Linked DNA regions of Homo sapiens: all the other regions are linked to region 1. The links are contacts of gene promoters, found by promoter capture Hi-C in blood cells and fetal thymus (Javierre and others, 2016). All regions are on one chromosome and are shown on one strand. Each heading gives the region's core, a stretch centred on a gene start or on the middle of the fragment in contact. The rest is flanking DNA. Distances are from core to core; before and after follow the strand shown. Region 1 holds the start of NR2F1-AS1 (NR2F1 regulatory antisense RNA 1). Region 2 has its middle 130 kb from the start of ARRDC3. Region 3 has its middle 110 kb from the start of ARRDC3.

Region 1 (3,665 bases), core at 686-3,185:
CTATGGAGATCGCTGCCTTATATGGAGCTCGTGTCAAGGAGCCAAGAGAAGGGCTGCTGGCAACTGATAATCAAAGGCGACTGACTGGTCAGAGCCCTGAATCGGGGGGAGAGAAAATGGGAGGCTAAGGTTAGCCAAGCCTCCTGCACGCCATTGGTTGGAGAGCCCCTCCCCCCTCCTCTTTTGCTTTCTTTCTCCCCCCCCCGCTTAGCTACCTACAGACTGGGATGGTGTGGGGAGGAGGAGAGAAAGTGAGGGAGGGGGGTGTGTTTCTGACAAGCGCAATTTACATTGAGATCGCCCTGCGCTGCTATTTACTCTGAGACCTGATTAGTATGGGTCGTCTATGGTCACACACACACACACATACACACACACACACTTACGCTCACACCCCAGAGGGGGAAGGGATGACGAGGGGGAGAACGCCTAGCGATGGGCAAAAGGAGAATTAGAGGGAAATTATTTTGATTTCTTCTGAAAAGTTTTTAAAATTAGATTTTATGAGCGTGAAGAGAGTGTCATTGAAAATGTTTGGAAAAATTTTTAATGGGAATGAAACCCCCACCATTTTAATGATTTGTGAAATATACTGGATTTGGATTGTTTTCTTCTCTCACATATAAGCACAATCCAAGTCTGGATTCTGCTCATTTTATATCCTTTTTAGAAACAAGTAGAAACAGGGTAGGATCTCCCTATTTTTTAATCCAAAGTATACCTTGGTTTAAAAGGTTTAATGATGACAAAGCACACTCCTGGAATTTGCAGCTATTGCCACAAATTCGATCGGAATCAAGGGTTCCTATTTATCCCAAAGATGATTTTAAAAATAAACTTTCCAATCAATCCAATTTTTCCTTCTTCTTTTTTTTTTTTTTTATCACCTGGCTGTTCCAAACTCCAACAATGCTTCAATCATTATTAATAAAACAGTAGTAAGTCCCCATATTGTTGCAGGGTGGGGGGAGATTAGTGTGGCCAAGTCAGTCCCGGGAAAAGAGCAAACAAACGAGAAGATGGAGAGGGGGGGAGGCGGAGAGGGAGAGAGAAAAGGGGGAGGAGGAGAGAGAGAGACAGAGAGAGAGGAGAGGAAAGGAAAGAGAGGAGAGAGGAGAGCGCGCGAGATATTGAGAGAGAGAGAGAGAGAAGAGAGGAGAGGGGAGAGAGAGAGAGAGGAGAGAGAGAGAGACCCAGAGAGAGAGGAGAGAGAGAGAGACCCAGAGAGAGAGAGAGAGAGAGAGACCCAGAGAGAGAGAGAGAGACCGAGAGAGAGAGGAGAGAGGAGAGAGAGAGAGAGGAGAGAGAGAGAGAGAGGAGAGAGAGAGAGAGAGAGACGAGAGGGAGAGGGAGAGGGAGAGGGAGAGGGAGAGGGAGAGGGAGAGGGAGAGAGGAGAGGGAGAGGGAGAGGGAGAGGGGGAGAGAGAGAGAGAGAGAGAGAGAGAGAGAGAGAGAGAGAGAGAGAGAGAGAGAGAGAGAGAGAGACCGAGACCCCGATTCCTGAATCCTGAAGGTGATTGGTCGCGGGAGGAGGGGCAGGCGGGAGGAGCGGGTCCCGCGGCGGGGCTTGCAGGAATCGCTGGCTCCGGCTGCCACCTAGCGGACGGGAGCCGCTCCCGGGCGGCACACAGCCGAGTCCCTCCTCCCCTCCCCGCAGGCAGCCTGTGCCTTTTCTCCAAACGAAGACAGCACTTTGAAAATTCTTTCAATGGATTTTTTTTTCCTTGAAAGATCGTACTGGGGGAAAATGATACTTCTATTAGTTACATATTCTCCAATCGCATACTCGCACCCCCCTCGTTTTGAGATCGCTCCCCTAGGCAGGCTCAGGCGGGCGCGGAGCCGCGCGGAGTGACAAAGCCGCCGCTGCCGCCGCCGGGGGTGGGAGCCGCGCTCGCCCGCCCGCCCCTCGACTCGCGAGGGCGTAAAAGTTTGTCTCAGCTCGAGCATTCCTAGCGCCAACACGCCCTCAGGTAAAGGTGGAAGTAAATGGCCACGCTGTATTGACAGAGGTAGGGTTTGTTTTTTAATACTCGTTCTCACTTTAAGTCTCACCAGGGAGGGGTTTGGGAAGCACTGCGTGTTTGGGGGACGTTTTGCGCTTCCTGGTCTCTCCAGCCTACAAGTCGGGAGTCGGCGACCGCTTAGTGACGAGCGATGATTTTAAAGAGCAGAATAAAAGGTTTTCCCGTGCCTGCCCCACAGCCCCTCCAGCTCGAATAATGGAGAACTGTCAATGCACTCCGCGAGCGGTGGCCCATTGTACGCAGCTGATGGCGAGGAGGCGACTGGGGGTAGCAGGGGCTCCTTGCCCTCGTCCCTATGCCCAAATAAACGCGCAAACGCGCTCCCGTCTTCTGGTCAGTTAAAAGGTGAAACGAACACGATTAAAATAGACCAAAAGAAAAGAAAGAAAAGAAAACCTTTCTATGTACAGATTCTAAATCGTACTCCCCATACAGTCAGAGGCAGGGAGTCGAGGGCAGAGGCAGCAGGCGGAGAGAGGGAGATAGGGCGAGGGAAGGAGAACGCGGAGAGAGACGAAGGGAGTGGGAGACCAGCGACAGCGAGCGCCAGGGCACCGCAGGCACACTGGATGCCCAGTCCGCCGGCCCAGCCGCCCTCGGACCCTGGACCGTGCGTCGTGGGCACCAGAAACGAGACTCGGCCAAATCCTGCCTCACCAGGCAAGTAACATAATGGTTGTCGTTTCTCTTGAACTTGGGGTTGGTAACGGGCAGGGCCGGGAGGCAGTCTTGGCTCGCACGGCCTCCGCAGGCCGAGAGCAGAGTCTAGGCAGCCAGGGCGGGACGAGGAGAACTTTCTTCGGGGCCTGCTCGGGAGTTGCCCTCGCTCGGCCTCTGTCTCGCCGTAGCGCTAAGGCGAGGATCGCGGCCGCCGCGCCTCCTTGGAGGGGAGGATCGTGCCAGGCGAGCAGCAATCCACATTCAAAACAGGCTGCTCCCACCCCCACCCGCTATTCCCTCTCTCTCCTAGGCGGGAAACGGATGCCCGGGCGGAGGACGGGGACCCGCACGTTTAACACCGGCCCGGCTGTTCCTGCTGGTGCCGAGCGCGACCCGCGGTGGAGCCGGCTGCAGAGTCCGGCCCGGCTGGCCCTTGTGCCCGCGCCTTGCCTGGTTACGGCCTGAACCTGGCGAGCTTGGCTGCAGCCGCCCACCTGCGGACGCCGTTTGTAACGCCATCCCCTAATGTAACGCGATCGATGGCTGCCTGTCTGATGTGGGCGATAGTGTCAGCGGATTAAAAGGGACATCGAGCCGCTCTCCCGAGCAGACAACCTGCGGCGGCGGCGAGAGAGCACCGGGATTCGCAGCCTAGCAGCCGAGCCAGACTCCCTGCGCCGCTGCCAGCCGGCTGGGGGCGGGGAGGGGGTCGCCTCCCAGGGGTGGGGACAGAGGGGGTGTGTTGAAAGGAAGAGGCTCAATTAAAACCAACAAGAGCGCTTTCCTCCGTGCGGGGCAGGGGCGTGCGTTTGCGTCAGAGGGCGCGCGGGGGGCGGGGGCAGCCGATGCTGGGGACTGCACCCGGGGGCTGGGGGGTCTCGGAAGCGAGGAGGCCTTGCCTAGCTGGGCTGGCCCGGGGTCAGGCCCTGTAGGTGAGGGCCAAGGCGAGACGGGATGACAGCTGAGCCTGCCCGGGAG
Region 2 (3,774 bases), core at 48-2,547, 2.1 Mb after region 1:
TGGTGATACGTTAATAACAGTGAATTCTATTGCGCGAGATCTGAATATTAAGGCAACCATGTAGTGGTCTCCCTGATTCTCCTTCTGTCTATACTTTCCCTTCATGGCATTTACCACAACTGTAATTTATTACTCTTATAACTATCTGTTTAACACATGGTGCCTCCACTAAGCTGTGACTTCACAAGGACCATGACCATTTCTGTCTTCCATCATTGCATCCCCAGAACCTAGCACAGGAACTATTGCACAGGAAGTGCTTAAAGAATGCTCATTGAATGGATGTAAATGCAAGCCTTTTTGTCTAAAAGCTCTAAGATCAACTACCTTTTACTTGAATCATGGATAGTCATTACTGGTACATTTCACCATGAAATACACAATTAAACACAATAATTAAACTTCAAGAAAAAAACATGAGTTTTTACCAATACATAATCAAAATAAAGTTCAATATTTCCATGTGTTCCAGATAGAATGCCTTCAAATGGTTTATCGCATCAAATAACATTGTTGGTCACTTTCAAAAGGTATACTGATTCTACTGCAATTATTCTACAGCTACTCGCGTGTGTAGGTTTTGCTGAAAAGATCAATTGGTAACGATCTTTCTATGGAAGAACATAAACATCATTCTTTGATTTGTTGCTAGAGCTGTTATTTGCAGAGCCTAAGGCTGCTTAAGTCTTTACTTTAAACTCAAGGTTTACCTGAAACCTTTACGAAAGGAGAGGGAAAACATTTATGATTGTTCCATTCAGTGAGTTGTCTGTTACTGACATTACTTTTATTAAACCAATTTTAATCTATTAAAAATAGTTTCAAAAACTATGATTGGGATTCTCTCAAAAAAATCAAATAAGTAAAATATTGATTACCACAGAGACCATAGCAAATGTGCATTTTATATTTAATGCAATTTAAGTGAAAACTCTAAAATTGTAAGGGAAACCTGTCCCTTTTGCAGAGTTGGAAAAAGAATAAACTGCTTGAAAAACCTTGATACATGTAAAGAAATTACATGGAGAGATGTTTGTTAGAATAGCAATGGTGAAAACTGCTAAGTAAAGGGAAATCACAGTAGTTAGACTTACCAGAACCAGAAAATTAATTTAATATTAATGTTCACTTACAGGTTTAATTTTAAACATTCTTTTAAAGCTCTTATATAGTAGGTCTTTACAATGCATCAGACATTCTGCTAAGCATCTTAGATAACTTCTTAAAATTTAACTCCCAATTTCAAAAATGATCCTACAATGTAAGAATAATGATGTTTATTCTATAAAGAAATGACGCCCTGTTAACAAGCAAAATCACTAGGATCTTAAATTTCTTTCTTTTCAAAATTCTAATTATTAATTGCTACACTATATTGGCTGCACAACTTTATTAGTTAGACAATTCCAAAGTGAGAAGCATTTCAACAACAATTTTGAAAGCCCAAATTCAAAAACTTCTCCTTATAAGTCAAGTAAATCTGTAATTTAAAATCTGAACACAGAAAATCTAAGTAGTGTCAGCAAATATCTTTGTCACACTTGCCTTCTACAGTCCCTCTGGAGTAATTCAACAACCACTGCAAGCATACTGGCAGAGACTAGGGGATGTCTCTGAGATCCCTACTTCTATCCACATCTCCAAGGAGACCATGATCGAAACTCCCTTCTAAAAGGCAGATGACAGTCAAGGGAAAAATTACAAAGAAAAGGAACAGCTTCTCCTCCAAGGCAGAGATCTCAAATTTGTTGGCTTTTCTACAGAGTACAGTTAGCAAAAGTCAACAGAATCCATTCATCCACTGAACAGTGAGAGAAAATTCCTCCTAGGCACATGCTATGTGGAGTCCTTGGGCCAGCAGCACAGTCCCACTGGCCCCAGTTGTCCTAGAAGACAGCTAGCTGCTTGACAAAACTAAATTGCTCCCAGTCTCTGTGATGAGAGGACTAACTTTGGACCCTAAAAAATCTCAGACCAGAGAATCTTCTTCCCAACAAGTAAGAGAAGAGTGAGAGTTGGCCAAGTCTTTTTTTTTCCTGAGTTTATATATATATGTATATACATATATATGTGTATATATATATGTGTGTGTGTGTGTGTATATATATGTGTGTGTGTATATATATATAATTATACTTTAATTTCTAGGGTACATGTGCACAACTTATTACTAGCCTGAGAGAGTAGAAAGCAGTCGTACAAACTGATAAATGAAAAAGAGCCAATACAAAAGTGGGCAATTTTAGGAAGCACATATTCCAACTATAAACAAACAAATGAAATGGTGTATAATCTCACTAATAGTCGGGAAATTAAAATTTAAAAAACATGTGATGCCACCTGTCAAAATGGCAAAGTTAAAAATATTAATGCATGCTGCGAAGAATGTAGAAAAACTAGTACTTTCTATGCAATGGAGGCCATATAAAATGCTAAAAAGCTCTTAGAAAATAATCTAGTAATACCTATTAAAAGTGAAATTTCAAATATTCTTAAAAGCAGAAATTCCACTTTAGGAAACATATTGGACAACAATGCGAGCATCAGAACATAGGAATATAGGTACAAGGATACTTTTGTGTTAAAAGAAAACTGAAATCAGCTTGAATATCATCTATAGGAATATGATTAAACATACTGTAGTATGTCCATTCCATGCAATATAAACCAGCCACTAAAGGGAATGTTTTAACTTTATTAATCTGGAAGTCTACGAAAAAAGCAAAGTGATGACAATATGTAAAGTAAGATTTTCTTATTTAAAAACCTAAGTAAGTGTATACATGTTTGATACATTGGCATAGACATGAAGAAAGATGCAGAATATCACACATTGTACTATTAATGTAGTTGATTTCAGGGGAGATAGAAATAGACACATATGTGGAAATCATTATCTTTTCCTTTATATATCTCTAGATTTTTTATCTGGCACCAGTGGGATATTATTTTGGAATTTTTTTAATTCAAAGAAAAAAGTATTAGATGAAATAACTATCAATATAACAACGATCTGACTTTATATGAATTTAAGTAATATTTAATTTCCAATGTTTCATATCCAAAATAACTAGATTAAAATGTATTAAATGGATTGCTATATTTCTATGATAAAAATGAAATATATCAATCATGTCCATATATGTATAATTTCTAGCCACACACTTTTTTGAATAAATGCTAAGGTTTATGCTATATTCTTTCAGAGTTATTTTTATCATCTCCACTTTTAAAAAAAGTTAAATAGTTAAATGGCAATAAAACAAAATAAATCAATTCTGAATCTAGAACTTCTGTTTGTACTCTCTAAAATCTATTGCTTTAACTTAATTTTGATGACCTGTAGGAGAAATAGCATTAAACATTAAAATGAAGTATTACTTTCACTTTCTTTTGTCCCAAAGGGTTTATTTTTCTCCTGAACACTCTAAGAAAAAGTAGAGGGTTTCAGTTGTTAGAAAGAATTGTTGGATCATTGTTAAGCTTTTAGAGATAATACTGTTTCTAGTTATTTTTAAGAAGGCTGAAATAGGAGAGAAGTCCTGGAGTATCAGGCCAGACACCAATTTGAACACCCTAATTAGAGAGAAACAATAAGCCCTGGATGAAATGCTTCCTCTGTGCTTTGAAGTGTTCAGGTTTCCTGGGTTAAGGAAACTTGCCATATCTGCAAACAAATGTATGGGAATCATATCCAGACACCTGTTGTACGTCTAGAAAAAAAAGAAAGAAATATTCAACATATCAGGGTCTTCATTCATTCTACCCTTCAAC
Region 3 (3,582 bases), core at 549-3,048, 2.1 Mb after region 1:
TCACACTTAAAGTCAGAAGTTACAAGGAGTCAAATTTTAAAACTCATATATTATCCTTTCAAATTATGAATTCAGTGTTATTAACACAATAAAAATACAGATTTTGTTTCTGATGAAAAATCTAAATGTAAAAAAAAATTAGCCACAAAGATCCAAAACATTTATCAGAGGGGCTTATGTTTCTGATAAATATTTAAGTGTGTAAGGCAGAACCACTGAGAACAATAAATAGTTTATAACTGGCACTTTGTCAAATCTATAAGTGGCTCTGCCTTAGAATTTTACATCATCACTGAATTTACAGTCATTTGATAAGTGGAACAGGACAAGAATTACTTCTTTCTAAATCTAAACCCGGTAATAAATCTAACATCAGGATTCTTCTTATTGTCTGTTATCATCTGATGACAATGCCTTTTACCATCATTGTCTTGGCAGAAATATGATATGTAAAATTATAATGTCATATTACTCACAGTGATTTAACACTCTCCAGCCCATACCATTTTAATCAATCAAAATTGTCGCTTTTTAGTGTAATGATTTTGTGGTGAATTCCCGTGTTTAATATGATATATGGTCCTATCCACCAGTTGATTTACTATTCTCTTCCAAAGTCTAACAGCTCAGGAGGCTGTTCTTGCTTTTGGACATATTTGGAATTAGCAAACAAGAATAATTTGTGGTAATAAAAATGCTAATTTCTATGACAAAAATGAAAGCTGAGAAATATCTTAAGTGCTAGTAGCTGAAGCTAATTTAAGAAAAAATAAAAGATGATTTTGTGAATTAAAACCACAGAAGTCCTAGAGCTTTTTCCTCTGTGTCCACATATTCTTCAATGCTATCAAGAAAAATCAGGAACACACAAACTATTCTCCTTCATTAAATTCGGATACACATTGTAGAAATTTCTTCTTTAAAAAAGTAATTTGAAAGGCAATTTAAAGTGATTATCAAATATTTATAAATCTTTTCTACTAGAAAAAAGCTAGTAAAAATCAACCTCAGATCTCATTCCTGAACTATGTTATACATTTAGAATTGACTATGGTGCAATAACAACCAACCACCAAATCTCAATGGCCAATGCCATAATTTCTCACTTATACTATGTACCCCAAAGAGGTCCACAGTCACTTAGGGATGCAGTGCCTGAGGGACCCATGCTACAGACTCCACATAGGCCACCAGGGAGTCACTTAGGGAACCCGGTTTGTGAAGACTCTGCTCTCCTATGTCTGCACATCTGGAATCTGCAGCCTCCTGAGACACCATAGAGAGCTGGGTAGTAATAATTTCCACATCACAGAAGGAGGAAAGAGAAGGCAGGGTCTCATGCTAGTGATTAAATGATGAAATTACACACCTGAGCACATGTCTCTTGTGCTCAGAGCCCATTGGCCAGAACTAGTTTTAAGGTTCCTCTCCAACTGGAAGTTGGGGAAGAAACATAATCCCCCCATTTGCCTGGAAGGAAAAAACAGGATATGGATGAACGCTAAACATCTTAAACTTGCAGGTTTTCAAAGAAAAAAAAATGTACACGTTTATTCCAGGCAACTCTCTTTGTAGAATCTTGAAAACCATATATTAGCTCTGGAATCTGTCATCTTACACAGTGAGAGAGAAAATTACCTATATGACTCTAGATGAGATGACCAACTGATTCCATTATTTAAGTGACTGTGTATATTTAAGTGAGAAGAAGGCAAATATTCTGCCCATAGTTTAATAAAAGCACTGATCTTTAAAATTGAAACCTTTTACCAATTGGCAGAGTCATAAAAATAATTTAAAATAAAAATTGTTGTTTTGGCACAGTCATCCCAGTTCTGGCTTGTTGAAGCATAAAGACAGATTTTTCAGAACAAAAATATTAATAAGAAATTTAAGAATCTAATATTTCTTATTTAACCTTAACAGAATGGGTTGAGGTTCTTTCAAACTTATTAAAACCCACTGTTACTGGTGCCCCTGGCCCAAACCATTGAGAAGATGTCATTGTAGTTCCCAGAGTGCAGAATCAACTGCTCCTACCTTCAGCTGGTTTCCTAAGGCCCACCCTATGCTGGTGGCAAGAGGAATATGGGAGTTTGATCATTCATCTAATGAATATTTGCTGAATACCTACAATATGCCTAATAGTATGGCACTCTGCCATTCTTTTGAGAATGTGACAATACCTGAAATAACAAAAGTTGTTTTTTTTTTTTCTTGAACTTCACATACTAGTGAGAGGACAAACAAGAGTAAGGGGAGCCAGGGAGTAAACAACCACAAAATCCCAGTGGCCAAACACCAAAATTTCTCACTCATGCTATGTACCCCAAACAGGCCTATCTATAGTCAACAACAACAACAAAAAAAACATAATTACGTAGATCATTCCATGTAACTATGAATGTCATGAAAAAATAAAGTCAAATAATAGGAGAGACAAGCATGGAATTTGGAGCTACTGTGGAGTAGATGGCCAGAAAAGGGCTTGAAGGATGTGACATTTCAGTTGAGAGCAGGAGGATATGAGAGAGCCTGGGCAAAGAATTTGGGGTTGAAGGAACCCAAAGGCAAAGGCTTAAAGCCAGAAATAATTTGGGCACACTGGAAAAAACTACCAGGGCCACAGGGCTGAGGTGTAATAGGCCAAGTCAAGGCAGCAACAGGGAAAAATAAGAAAACGGGTCAATAGCAACTCAAGATAACTAAACAGCCCACAGACTTTCAAACCATTAATGTGGTATAGAACAGAAAGTTTCATGTGGTGATCAATAGTTCATGTTAAACAAGTTCAGTATGGTGGCTAGACCATCAAAGAGTGTAAAACTTATCCTTCAAGTCCAAGAAGCACTCTAGAAGAGGTTTAGTTGGTTAAAATTTTGAAGTGATGAGTATGAACTTGGAGCTGTGGTTGGGGGTGGAGGGAGTATAAGAAATTTAATCTGTGTTAAAAATGTTACAACTATATGAAAAAAAGCAGAGCATATACCCTAGAGAATGAATCAAAAACTTTTGAAACACAGTGTCACTAAGTAAAAATTATCATGAGACAAATTAAATCCCACGTGTTGAGGGAAGAGTCGAAAACAAGGAAAGTTACTCAAGAGAGGGTGAATTCTATTTGGAATTTTGAAATAGAGGCCAGATGAAAGATTTGCTAGTGGAATGCTAGAAAAGTATCAAAGCAAGGTATTCCATGTGGAGAGAAAGAAGTGTGCAAAGTGGGAATAAATGGTTATTGTTTTGGTTATCTATGCATTACAAAACGTTGCAAATTCTAGTAGCTTAAAGCAATGTATAGTCTCTCATGGCTCTGTGGATTGACTGGGCTCTGCTGAGTAGCTCTTATTTGAAGTGTCTCATACAACGGAAGACAATGGCTGAGGCTTAACTGAGCCACTCATCCAAGATAGCAATTAATGCTGGCTCCTGGTGGGAAGCCCAGTTGCAGCATTCAACTGGAATACCTACAAGTGGCCTCTCTTTGTGGCTGGAGCTTCTCACAGCAACAGCAACTTTCTGAATGGAAATGTCTCATAAGTAAGCATTGCAACAAACAAGACAGGATCTGTGTAGCTTCTT

The links. The method cuts DNA at HindIII sites, captures the fragments that hold promoters and counts their contacts. A CHiCAGO score of 5 or more calls a contact.
Region 2: a fragment that was not itself captured here is called in contact with the fragment with the promoter of NR2F1-AS1 in region 1 in 3 of 17 cell types (M2 macrophages, naive CD8 T cells and total CD4 T cells); the score reaches 7.6 in M2 macrophages.
Region 3: a fragment that was not itself captured here is called in contact with the fragment with the promoter of NR2F1-AS1 in region 1 in 3 of 17 cell types (naive CD8 T cells, M0 macrophages and M1 macrophages); the score reaches 10.0 in naive CD8 T cells.

The regions. Positions count from the first base shown.
Region 1 is chr5:93,579,489-93,583,153 of GRCh38, reverse strand. NR2F1-AS1 (NR2F1 regulatory antisense RNA 1) reads left to right here and starts at 1,935. Exons shown (of 8, transcript NR_186187.1): 1 at 1,935-2,012. RefSeq lists a silencer at 1,490-1,539 and an enhancer at 1,660-1,759. The HindIII fragment of the contact is 7,751 bases long and covers 1-3,665 here.
Region 2 is chr5:91,509,651-91,513,424 of GRCh38, reverse strand. No RefSeq gene overlaps it. Among named protein-coding and RNA genes, the nearest start is that of ARRDC3, 130 kb to the right of the region's middle. The HindIII fragment of the contact is 4,377 bases long and covers 1-3,485 here.
Region 3 is chr5:91,487,441-91,491,022 of GRCh38, reverse strand. No RefSeq gene overlaps it. Among named protein-coding and RNA genes, the nearest start is that of ARRDC3, 110 kb to the right of the region's middle. RefSeq lists an enhancer at 3,135-3,582. The HindIII fragment of the contact is 5,127 bases long and covers 1-3,582 here.